Regions from separate parts of the Homo sapiens genome. Here all the other regions are linked to region 3. Evidence: promoter capture Hi-C in 16 types of primary human blood cells and fetal thymus (Javierre and others, 2016). All regions are on one chromosome and are shown on one strand. The core of a region is centred on a gene start or on the middle of the fragment in contact, and the rest is flanking DNA. Distances in the headings are between cores, read along the strand shown. Region 1 holds the start of F2RL2 (coagulation factor II thrombin receptor like 2). Region 2 holds the start of F2R (coagulation factor II thrombin receptor). Region 3 holds the start of S100Z (S100 calcium binding protein Z).

Region 1 (3,447 bases), core at 884-3,383, 230 kb before region 3:
AAATAGAGGAGGTGTGTCCTAGTAACTGAGGGGTATGGAGGTGATCAGGTATCATTTAAGAAAAGGTAGATTAAAGAAAAGGAAAGAAAAATTTGGGAGGCAGCATTCTTCTATGCCTGTATTTAGAGGTGATCTTAGAAGCTGTGTTGTGTGACACACAAACCCTTCTGCTCACTTTTGCATTTTGGAAAAGTTCTTGCATCTGACATCACCCAAAGAGAAGTGCCTTTAAAGATAGGCACAAAGTTAGAGAATGGTGCCTGAAGAGCATGCCGTACAAGTTATTAGCCTGATTTTAAAAAGCTGTTAAAACCAAGTGTTTGTCCGTTTTCAGAAAGTTTCTGGGATTTAGCAAGACATCATGCCTCCAGACATGCCAAACAGTGCCTGTGTTTTGTGGAAAAGTTGATTTGATTCCATTTTCCGTGAGAATGCCAGATCTGGGTCCACTTAAATAAGGCTTTTATTCCTCAGAGCCTGGTTTTCCTTATGAATTGTACTCATTGTTAAATTTTTTTATTGTATTTTAATTCTTTATAGAGGCTTCCATTGGGCATAATATTTCGGAAATGTTTTTCTATCCGGGAAAAGGCCTTGAAGAACTAATCCAAAGAGAATGAACTCCGGCCTCTCAGGGGTGTCCAAGGGAGAGAATACAGTCATGGATTCATAGTTTCTGTTTCTAGTTGAGCCAGTAAAGCCCCTTCCTCATCCCTCTTTTCCATTTACCTCTAGAGACAGAAACTAAAAACCATGGCTTCAGGCTGCTAAAAGCCTAAAACAAAACAAAACCACAACGAAATAAGGCAGGTTGGACAAGCTTGCTTCATTCTTCCTTCACATTTCTCCCCCACCCCATGGAAGAAAGCAAATTCACTGCCTCTTTGTTTCCTTCAGAGGCCCCCGTTTTCACCTCCATCAAACCCTATTAGCGTCTTGAAGGAACCACCCCCGAAAACCTTGCTTCTTTTGCAATTCTGCTTCTCAACATATTGGCCCATCTACTCCCAGAAAGAGCGTGCACTTATTATATTCATAAATCCCACATGTGCTTACTGCTAATCACCACAGATTCTCTTAGAGCTCTCTGCAACCGCTCAGGGATTCCAAATGTGAATTTAAGCAATGTTCCTTTAGAAAGCATTGATTTCTGTTTTTGTTTCCCTTGCTATGTCCAGTCTTTGCCTCTCCCACTCCTAACAATGTTGACTGGAGTGTGTGACCTAACAAAGAGTAACAGGTACAGACCTATCCCAAATTTGTTATTTTTGGAAAAAGCAGGAGGTTTCAGGCTAACATTGTGATGGGTAAAGTGGAAAGTACATTCAAAGTTGAATAATAGTATTTGGGAGACCTTATTTTTAAAATTAAAAAATCATATATGAGGGTAGGGAGAACTCCCCACTTAAAGTCAAAAAAGGTCATTCATTTCGGAAATACTGACTTATTAGCATTGCCAGCTATTGAAAGCAGATGACTTTCTCTTTCTGGCAGTATTCTTGTTTCTCCCATTTATGTCTCACCAAGAGGTTTAAACACAGGATATATATTTTAATCCCTAGAAAAAGTGCCATCTTTGCTTAACCAGAAGAGAAATTCTTACAAACACAAAAACGACTTTCAAAATTGCTCCCTGACTTAATCGTAGACATCTAAAATCTTGAATATGCCACACATTTTTAAACATCAGGAGGGAACACTTAGTCTATGACCAGGTTTGAATAGAGTGAATGAACTATAGATGTTCATTTCCATGATTCTACCTTTTAATAATAAAGATCAAACTGCCTTTGGGGTTTACAGTTTGTGTGAGATGCAAAGAAACCTAGGTTCAGTTGACTCTTAATTTGTAACAGAAACCCACATCCCCATCCTACCCCCTGAGAAAATTGCTTACCACTCTGACAAAAAGTGGGCAACAGAAGCAGGAGGCCAGCAGCTGCAAAGATGAGGGCTTTCATTTTGATGACCTGAGTCCCGTCTCTTAAACGTTATGAAATCTGTAAAATCATGGAGCACAATTTCACCTCAGTTCCATGTGTCAGCAGCAAATGGAAGCCTTGGTCTGTCTGTAGAAGTTTGCTCTCCTGTGCCGTGCAGGCAGGAAACTTGCCCTGGTCCTCCGCAGGGAAAGGATGTAATCCACTCGATGCTTCAGTAAGCATGACTCAGGCCAAGCCTCTGAACGTGTTACGTTATCCCTGGAGAAAGGCATTTAACTCTTACCCACCCCCAACAATCTATTCTGAATAGGTGCTGTAATTCTCCCCTAGTAGATTTGCTTTTAAAGAATGGCAGAAATTACACAGGCCTTTACAGAACTAAGCCAAAAACAGATGTTGAACAGCAGTAAGTTTTGAATCTGTCCCACATTTCATTTCTTATCCGTTTTAAAAATGCAGTTCCAGAGTGTAATTTCTACTTAATAAATTATCCTTTCCTTTATCTTCCCAGCTATTTCAAATCTTAATCCTTAAACACTTTACATAATTATAAATTAATCATGGAAAACAAACTTTTAAGAAATTCAAATTGAGCGGTGAATCACTTTGAAAATTTTCCATCAATGTAATATTGATTTCAGTTTGTCGTCAGTGCCTGGCCAGAACCTGGCTTTTGAGTGGTGGTGGTTTTTCTTCGCCGGGTGAGGATGGCGTTTGTTCAGGCTTTTTTTTTTTTTTTTGCCTTATCTTGATGTGTTTTGAGCCATTCAATAACCCTTAGGGTCAGATAACTGGAGGAACCTCCCAAACAACGCTGTTCAGTTAAACTAAAATCATAGCACATCATGAAAATGAGGACTCCCTTTATTCCATGAGTGTTGGTGAATAAGTCTACAATAAGATATTTTTAATAGTGGTAAAATATACGTAACATAAAATTTACTATCTTAACCAGTATTAAGTGTACAGTTCAGTAATGTTAAATACATTCACATTGTTGTACAACATATAAGCTTTTATGAATTGTTATATTCTGTAGAGTATGACTTAATATACAGTAAAAAAATGCATTATAACACATTTTTCTGTAGTTAATAAAACTTAAACTTGAAGCCTGACCATCCCACAGCCTGCTCTTTACAAAATGCAGCAAGAATCAGAAAATACAAATTTCACATGAGACTTAAAGGCTAGGGATATGCTAGGAAGAAATTGATCTGCGGAAACCTTTCACATCTTGATTAAATTACATTAGACCAAGATTTTTACAAAGGTCAGTGTTTAATACTTCAACTACATAATATATGGTTATACAAACTGAGATAGAATGTTATTATATTGCAGAAATATAAAACCTAAAATATTGACAAAGGTTTTTTTTGTTTCATTAGAACTTTTCTGGGAGTTATCTAAATTCAGGAATTTATGACTTGATTTGCACATGGCCTAGTTTCTGGTCATTTAATTCATTTGTAACTCTTATGTTGAACCTGGCTGTTTAACT
Region 2 (3,426 bases), core at 538-3,037, 130 kb before region 3:
GATAAATTGTAAAATCAATGACGTCTTAGGAATAATGAAAAATAGTTTAATAGTGAATGAAGAACTATGTAATTTTAACTGTTCACATTTACTCTTGGGTATGTTTCCAGAGGATAACTGAACGGGGATAGATTTTAAAAAGCTTTATTTAACTGGGTACTTCCGCAATTTAGTGATCAACTTCTGTGTACAACAAGGTACTGTCCTTTGAGGATGATGGGAGAATACAGGGAAGAACGAAATCGCCTCTGATCGTACTTTCTCCACGGATGTAAGTGTCCGGGCTCTAGTGGGGGAATGATACTCTTCGTGCGAAATTCACTTTTAAAAAAGGCTTAGAAAACTGACCACCGGCTCTCAGCTGCAGCTTATCAACCACAGAACTCCGAATATGCCCGCACATCAGTGCGCTGGGTTAAGAGGAGAAGGGGCTGCGGCTGAGCTTTCCTAGAAACAGCTATTTGGGGACCCATTTCCTGTTGGAGTCTGAAAGGCGCACGCACCAGAGCCAGTGGCAAAGCAACTTAAGCTGCAGGCTCCTCCTGCCCACCCCCAGCCGCGACGCCCCTGGGGGCCCTTAGCAGACTGCCAAGCGAGTGTCCCCGCCCTGTGCCTTGAATTTAGCCAAACTCCTTTAATATCAGGCCTGGCGCGGTGATTCACGCCTGTAATCCCCGCACTTTAGGAGGCTGAGGCAGGAGGATCGCTTGAGGCCAGCAGTGAAATTAGCCGGACATGGTGGCGCGCGCCTTTCTGTGGTCCCAGGTAATCCGGAGGCTGGGGCGAAAGGGTGGCCTGAGCCAGGGAGATCGAGGCTGCAGTGAGCCGTGTTGGCGCCACTGCACTCCAGCCTGGGCGACAGGGCAAGACCCTGCCTCAAAAACAAAACAAACTGTAATATCGTTCAAGAACGTGTGAAGGACACTTGGAAAGTTACCAGGCCATTTCTCTCCTGGGCGCCCGCGGCCCTAGAACGCCGGCCTCACCGGCAGACGCGCGCCCTCCTCCCAGATGCGCAGGTGACCCCGGCGGGCGGCGCGGGAAAGGGAAGAGCTCCGCGAGGCCGCGCGGGGGGGAAGCGGGAGAAGCCGCTCTTCCTATTCCACTCGCAGTCTGCGTGTGGGGGAAACGAGTGCCCGGCGTATGAAACGCCTAACTTCGCGAAATAAAGAGAGACGTATAAAAGTTCAAGAATTCTGTCCAGACTCAAGGGCCCTTTCTCATTTAGGGGCAACCCTGTCACTACATCATAAACTTTTAAATCCGTGATCCCCACGTTACAAAAGCAGAAGTCCCTTTTAGACTTTTAGCGAAAACTGAACTTTGCCGGTGTCCCACACGGAGGGAGGGAGGACGGGAGGCCACGCCAGGGCTGCGGGGCTGCAGGGCGTGGACGCATCCTGGCCGGGGCGTCCACTGTCGACGTCTCCACATCCCAGGAGGGTCGAGACGGCCGCGGGAAGCAGCCTGCGAGCCGTGCGGCCCCATTCCAAGGACCCCGCCAGTGTGAGTCACTGACAGCTTCGCGAATCAACGGTGCCCAGAGGAAAAAACTTCTCATTTGGACTTCTAGGCCCGGCAGTGGCCGGCGGCCAGGGCCCCCCAGTAGGGCAGGGCGGGGCGGGGCGGGGCGCACAGAGCCAGAGGGGCTTGCGAGCGGCGGCTGAGGGACCGCGGGGAGGGGGCGCCGAGCGGCTCCAGCGCAGAGACTCTCACTGCACGCCGGAGGGCGCCCTTCCTCGCTCGCGCCCGCGCGACCGCGCGCCCCAGTCCCGCCCCGCCCCGCTAACCGCCCCAGACACAGCGCTCGCCGAGGGTCGCTTGGACCCTGATCTTACCCGTGGGCACCCTGCGCTCTGCCTGCCGCGAAGACCGGCTCCCCGACCCGCAGAAGTCAGGAGAGAGGGTGAAGCGGAGCAGCCCGAGGCGGGGCAGCCTCCCGGAGCAGCGCCGCGCAGAGCCCGGGACAATGGGGCCGCGGCGGCTGCTGCTGGTGGCCGCCTGCTTCAGTCTGTGCGGCCCGCTGTTGTCTGCCCGCACCCGGGCCCGCAGGCCAGGTGAGAGATGCACGGGAATGGGGTGCGCGGGCGGAGGGACGCCGAGGGGAGACTGCGGGGGTCACTGTTGCGCCTTCTCCTCACCCCTGCCTCAGTTTCCTCCGAAAGCCAAACTGGCATTTGGGCTGAGATCTGGAGTTTTTTCCAGTCACGTTTAGGTGGGGCGTGCCACCCCCTTCGCGGGCCCAGCCGATGCCCCTTTGGACTCGATCTTGGAGGGTGCAGCCCGCCTGCCACGGGGTGTTGGATATGGAGGAGGATGGAGCGGAAGCCCCCTGGGGGAGCCTGCAGTCCTGCGTTGCACTTGTCATTGTGTTTCTCCCAGGACCACCCCCAAAAAGAAAAGCTCTCACGTTGCTCCACCAATAAACGTTTCGATCTTTAAAATATAAAGTGGCGAACCGCTGCCGCTGAAGTTTTGCTTTGTTGGAAGTTTTTTTCTTGCACATTTTACAGGCGAGAAAAGTGATGTAGAGAAAAGCCCAGGCAGTCCCTTGGCATGTTTAGCAGAGAATCAGTACCAGCAGCCCCCGGCCCGGCCTTGTGTCCAGGAGGTGCGCAGGGTGCGAGATATATGGTGACAATAGCAGAGGCTCCGCGTGGTGGCGGGGGAGGGGACATGGAGAGGATTTTGTTGTTACCTAGAACCCATTCCTTCTAAGTGAGTTGAAGAGAGAGATCCCTCCCCAGGACCGGGCTCCCTCGAACACTGTGGGATCCCAGTATTTCTTAACGAGATTTCTGATCCACTGCAAGAAGGTTGCTCCCCTAGAATATTTTCCCCACTAGTAGTCTATTTTTAAGTATCTGGCCACTTGACCAAATAAATAAATTTGATTAATTTATTTGGTCAAATATTTTCTGTATCCCTTTCCCCAAGAGCAGCACAGATGAGTTGTTTTTAGCCTGTAAAGGCGCTAATTAGAAAGTGAGAAAAGTGTTTTTGAATTTCCTAATAACAATAGTATTTTATAAGCTTTGAGCCATTTTTTTTACGCTGAAAGAAGTTCTAGCGGGTTTTCTTGTTATCGCTAAAAGAATGTGCACTCTATATTGCTCCCACACTCAAAAAAAAGTGTAGACACATCAAGATTAAGAGGTGACAAAGACATAGCATGTTCTCGCCTCTCTGTCTTTGTTCAGGGTGAGTTTTGAGATGCTTTTGGGAAAACTAAGAGCTCCAGACTGGGGCCCAGTGTTTAGCAGTAACTAGCCTGCCTGCAGATAAGTGAGCATTGTTGCCGAAAGTGTTTGAGAGAACACCGAGAACTCCTGAAAAATTGTTTGCGATGAGATATGATTTCACATACCATTATGTAATTTGCACAATGTAGTTTGAGGACACGCTCTTGAGAATCCAGTGTTTTGT
Region 3 (3,448 bases), core at 556-3,055:
TGAGGCACAGCACCCAGTCAAGAGGTTTTTGGGTTTTGTTTGTTTTTTGAGACGGAGTCTCACTCTTGCCCAGGCTGGAGTGCAGTGGAACAATCTTGGCTCACTGCAACCTCTGCCTCCCGGATTCAAACAATTCTCCTGCCTCAGCCTCCCGAGTAGCTGGGATTACAGGCGCACACCACCATACCTGGCCAAGAGTAGTTATTTTGGAAAGAGAGACGTTTCAATCTTCAGAACATATCTTTGGCCGGGTGCGGTGGCTGGTGCCTGTAATCCCAGCACTCTGGGAAGCCAGGCTGGGAGGATCACTTGAGCCCAGGAGTTCAAGACTAGACTGGGCAAGCAACATGGTGAAACCCCATCTCTACAAAAAAATACAAGTATTAGCCAGGTTGTGGTGGCATACCCTGCAGTCCTAGCTATTTGGGAGGCTGAAGTGGGAGGATCACTTGAGCCTGGGAGGTTGAGGTTGCAGAGAGCTGTGATTGTGTCTCTGTACTCTACCCTAGGCAATGGAGCAAGACTCTGTCTCCAAAAAAAAAAAAAAAAAATTTATCTTTGAATTCTTTCTTTCAATATATTGTTATCTGTATTTCTGTACTGAGTGCTGTGCTTCTTGACCTGTCTCTGCCCTTTTCTGTGTATTTATTTATTTAATTGACAAGTAAAAATTGTATATATTATGGTATACAAATACAGCTTGATGTTTTAATTTATGTATACATTGTGGAATTATTAAGTCAAGCTATTTGACTTAATTGCCCCATATACTTGTCATTTTTTGGGGGTGATAAAGACACTTAACATCTACTGTCTTAGCAATTTTCGATACACGATATATTGTTATTAACTATAGATAGCATGCTGTACAATGGGAGCTCTTAAACTTATTCCTCCTGGGCCAGGCGCAGTGTCTCACGCCTATAATCCCAGCACATTGGGAGGCCAAGGTGGGCGGATCACTTGAGGTCAGGAATTCAAGACCAGCCTCACCAACATGGTGAAACCCCATCTCTACTGAAAATACAAAAATTAGCCAGGCTTAGTGGTGGGCGCTTGTAATCTCAGCTACTTGGGAGGCTGAGGCAGAAGCTTGAACCAGGGAGGTGGAGGTTGCAGTGAGCTGAGATGATGCCACTGCACTCCAGCCTGGGTGACAGAGCAAGACTCTGTCTCAAAAAAAAAAAAGAAAAAAAGAAATGCTGTGAGGAATTATTAGCCATGAAGCTTCAGCAGGCAGGTTAGGTAGCTTTTCCAGTCACATACTGGTGAAGTAAGGATTTGAACCCCAAGACTCTGGTGCCAGAGTAATTGCTCTTCACCATGAGGAGGCACCAGTGGGGGAGTGTTGGATCACAAGCAGTTTCTTTTTCTTTTTTTTTTGTTTTTTTGAGACGGAATCTGGCTCTGTCACCTAGTCTGGAGGGCAGCGGCGAGCTCAGCTCACTACAACCTCTGCCTCTCAGGTTCAAGCGTTCTCCTGCTTCAGCCTCACGAGTAGCTGGAATTACAGGCGCCCGCCACCATGCCTGGCTAATTTTTATATTTTTAGTAGAGATGGGGTTTCGCCACGTTGACCAGGCTGGTCTCAAACTCCTGACCGCAAGTGATCCACCCACCTCAGCCTCTCAAAGTGCTGGGATTAGAGGCATGAGCCACTGCACCCAGCGCAATTTCGTTAGAGACTTGGTGCCTTCCCATTTCTTTTACTCAGCAATATACCAGCTTTAGGTCCTAAATTAAACCTCTTCCTGCTTTCCCACCTGATGAAGAAACGTGCCTGCAGTGTGGTGAGTCTGGACCACGCAGACTCAGAACAGCACTACTCACAGCAGGGCCTCTTGCTCGCTCTAGCTGCTGGGAGGAAAACGGCTTGCTAATCTCCACGCCCAGAAATTCAGACAAGAGCATTCTCCTTATCTCATCTGCACAGGAAGCAGGTCTAAGGTAAAAGATTATTTTTGTGGAAGATTCTTGCTTTTCAGTCTAGTGGTTGAAGTGTGAGCCTGGCAGGCGTTGGATTAGAGAGGGCAACAAGAGTGGAGGTTGTGAGGTGGGGGGTTGCCTTGGGGCTTCCACTCTAAAATGTGGCCTTACCTTGGCCACAAAGGGGTCGGGGGGGTGGGGGAGAGAGAGAGAGAGAGAGAGAGGGAGAGAGCAGCCTGATCATAGCTCGGAGCGTAGAGGTTCTGGTAAGTTCCTTGCCCTAAAGAACACTTAGTTCATTCTGGCTCCTTTCCTGGTGACCATCCTGGCTTCCTGCTTGGCCTTCACCTCACCTTGAGAAATTCAAGTTTCATGTTCTTGTCCAGGCCAAAGACCCAGAAGAACCTTCAAGGTGAGGCTTGGCCCCTTAGATCCACGCCGTGATTTCGCTTCTTTTTCCTGAAGCCTGCACAGATGCCAGTGTAAGCCCACTCCCAGGAAGTCACAGCAGTGGTCTATGCTCCTCCTCTTCACACTGGCCAGTGCTGGGCATGCCTGGACAATCAGCCCTGGAATGGCTGCTCTCAGCCTACAGAAGAAGAGAGGGAAGAGGGATGGAGGGGCTGGGGAGAAGTTGGTGAGAGGACACAAAATTTGGGTTAGACAGAGAAATAAAGTTTTTTTTGTTTTTTGTTTTTTTCTGAGATGGAGTTTCACTCTGTCACCCAGGCTGGAGTGCAGTGGTGTGATCTCAGCTCACTGCAACCTCCACCTCCCACTTGGCTTCCCAAAGTGCTGCGATTACAGGCATGAGCCACCGCTCCCCAGCCTCCTCATGGGATTTTTGAGGATGACATAAAGGAATACATTTAAACTGCCTAGAAGGGTGCTTGGCCCAGAGTATGTGCTAATTAACGTTGGCTACTATTATTTTCCTTCAACCCAGTGCCGGTGCAGGTCTAGAGGAAAGCATGAGGTGATACAGGGGCACCCAGAGGCGGAGTGCTCCCAGGAGCTGAGGGGCATCGGAGGCTTCCCTGGAGGACTGGCACCTGAGCAGAGGAATGGGCAGCACAGTGGCAGTGCCACGTGTGCGGCACAGATGGTGCAGAGGGGATGGGTGGGCACACTGCGGGGAGTTTAGATTTAGCCAGGGGATGGCAGGGCCTGTCCAGGAGGTTAAGTGAGGAGCTCAGGTGTGCCTCCCAGCAGGCAGGGGAGGCTAATTTTGAAGAAGAGCAAAGTAGGTGCAGGAGGTGAGTTGGGATCTCATGCAGTAATTCAGGCCAGAAGTGACAAGGGCCTGAACTATGGCGCTAGGGTTGAGGAGGAAGGAACAGAGAGTGAGGAGATACAACCTGGCAACTGATTGCATGAGAGAGAGAGAGGGGCCAGGAATAGCATCATACTCAGGTTTCTGGCCATGCAGTTGGGTGAATGAGGGTATTGCTGTTGACTGGAGCAGCAAAAAAAGGGGATCCCCTCTGGGGTAGAGGAAGAAGGGAGCAGGGGATTGGAAAAT

Evidence for each region. Contacts are between HindIII fragments. The CHiCAGO score rates a contact against its expected background, and 5 or more counts as called.
Region 1: a contact is called between the fragment with the promoter of F2RL2 here and the fragment with the promoter of S100Z in region 3, in 4 of 17 cell types (endothelial precursors, neutrophils, monocytes and 1 more). The highest score is 8.2, in endothelial precursors.
Region 2: the fragment with the promoter of F2R here is called in contact with the fragment with the promoter of S100Z in region 3 in 13 of 17 cell types (monocytes, erythroblasts, M0 macrophages and 10 more); the score reaches 10.5 in monocytes.

What each region holds. Positions count from the first base shown.
Region 1 is chr5:76,621,270-76,624,716 of GRCh38, forward strand. It overlaps F2RL2 (coagulation factor II thrombin receptor like 2), which reads right to left and starts at 2,134. Exons shown (of 2, transcript NM_004101.4): 1 at 1,898-2,134. The coding sequence starts at 1,961. The region is part of intron 13 of IQGAP2 (IQ motif containing GTPase activating protein 2); the gene reads left to right. RefSeq lists a silencer at 1,915-2,209. The HindIII fragment of the contact is 2,136 bases long and covers 819-2,954 here.
Region 2 is chr5:76,714,339-76,717,764 of GRCh38, forward strand. It overlaps F2R (coagulation factor II thrombin receptor), which reads left to right and starts at 1,788. Exons shown (of 2, transcript NM_001992.5): 1 at 1,788-2,057. The coding sequence starts at 1,970. RefSeq lists a silencer at 1,594-1,843. The HindIII fragment of the contact is 2,891 bases long and covers 141-3,031 here.
Region 3 is chr5:76,848,209-76,851,656 of GRCh38, forward strand. It overlaps S100Z (S100 calcium binding protein Z), which reads left to right and starts at 1,806. Exons shown (of 5, transcript NM_130772.4): 1 at 1,806-1,947. The HindIII fragment of the contact is 3,987 bases long and covers 1,226-3,448 here.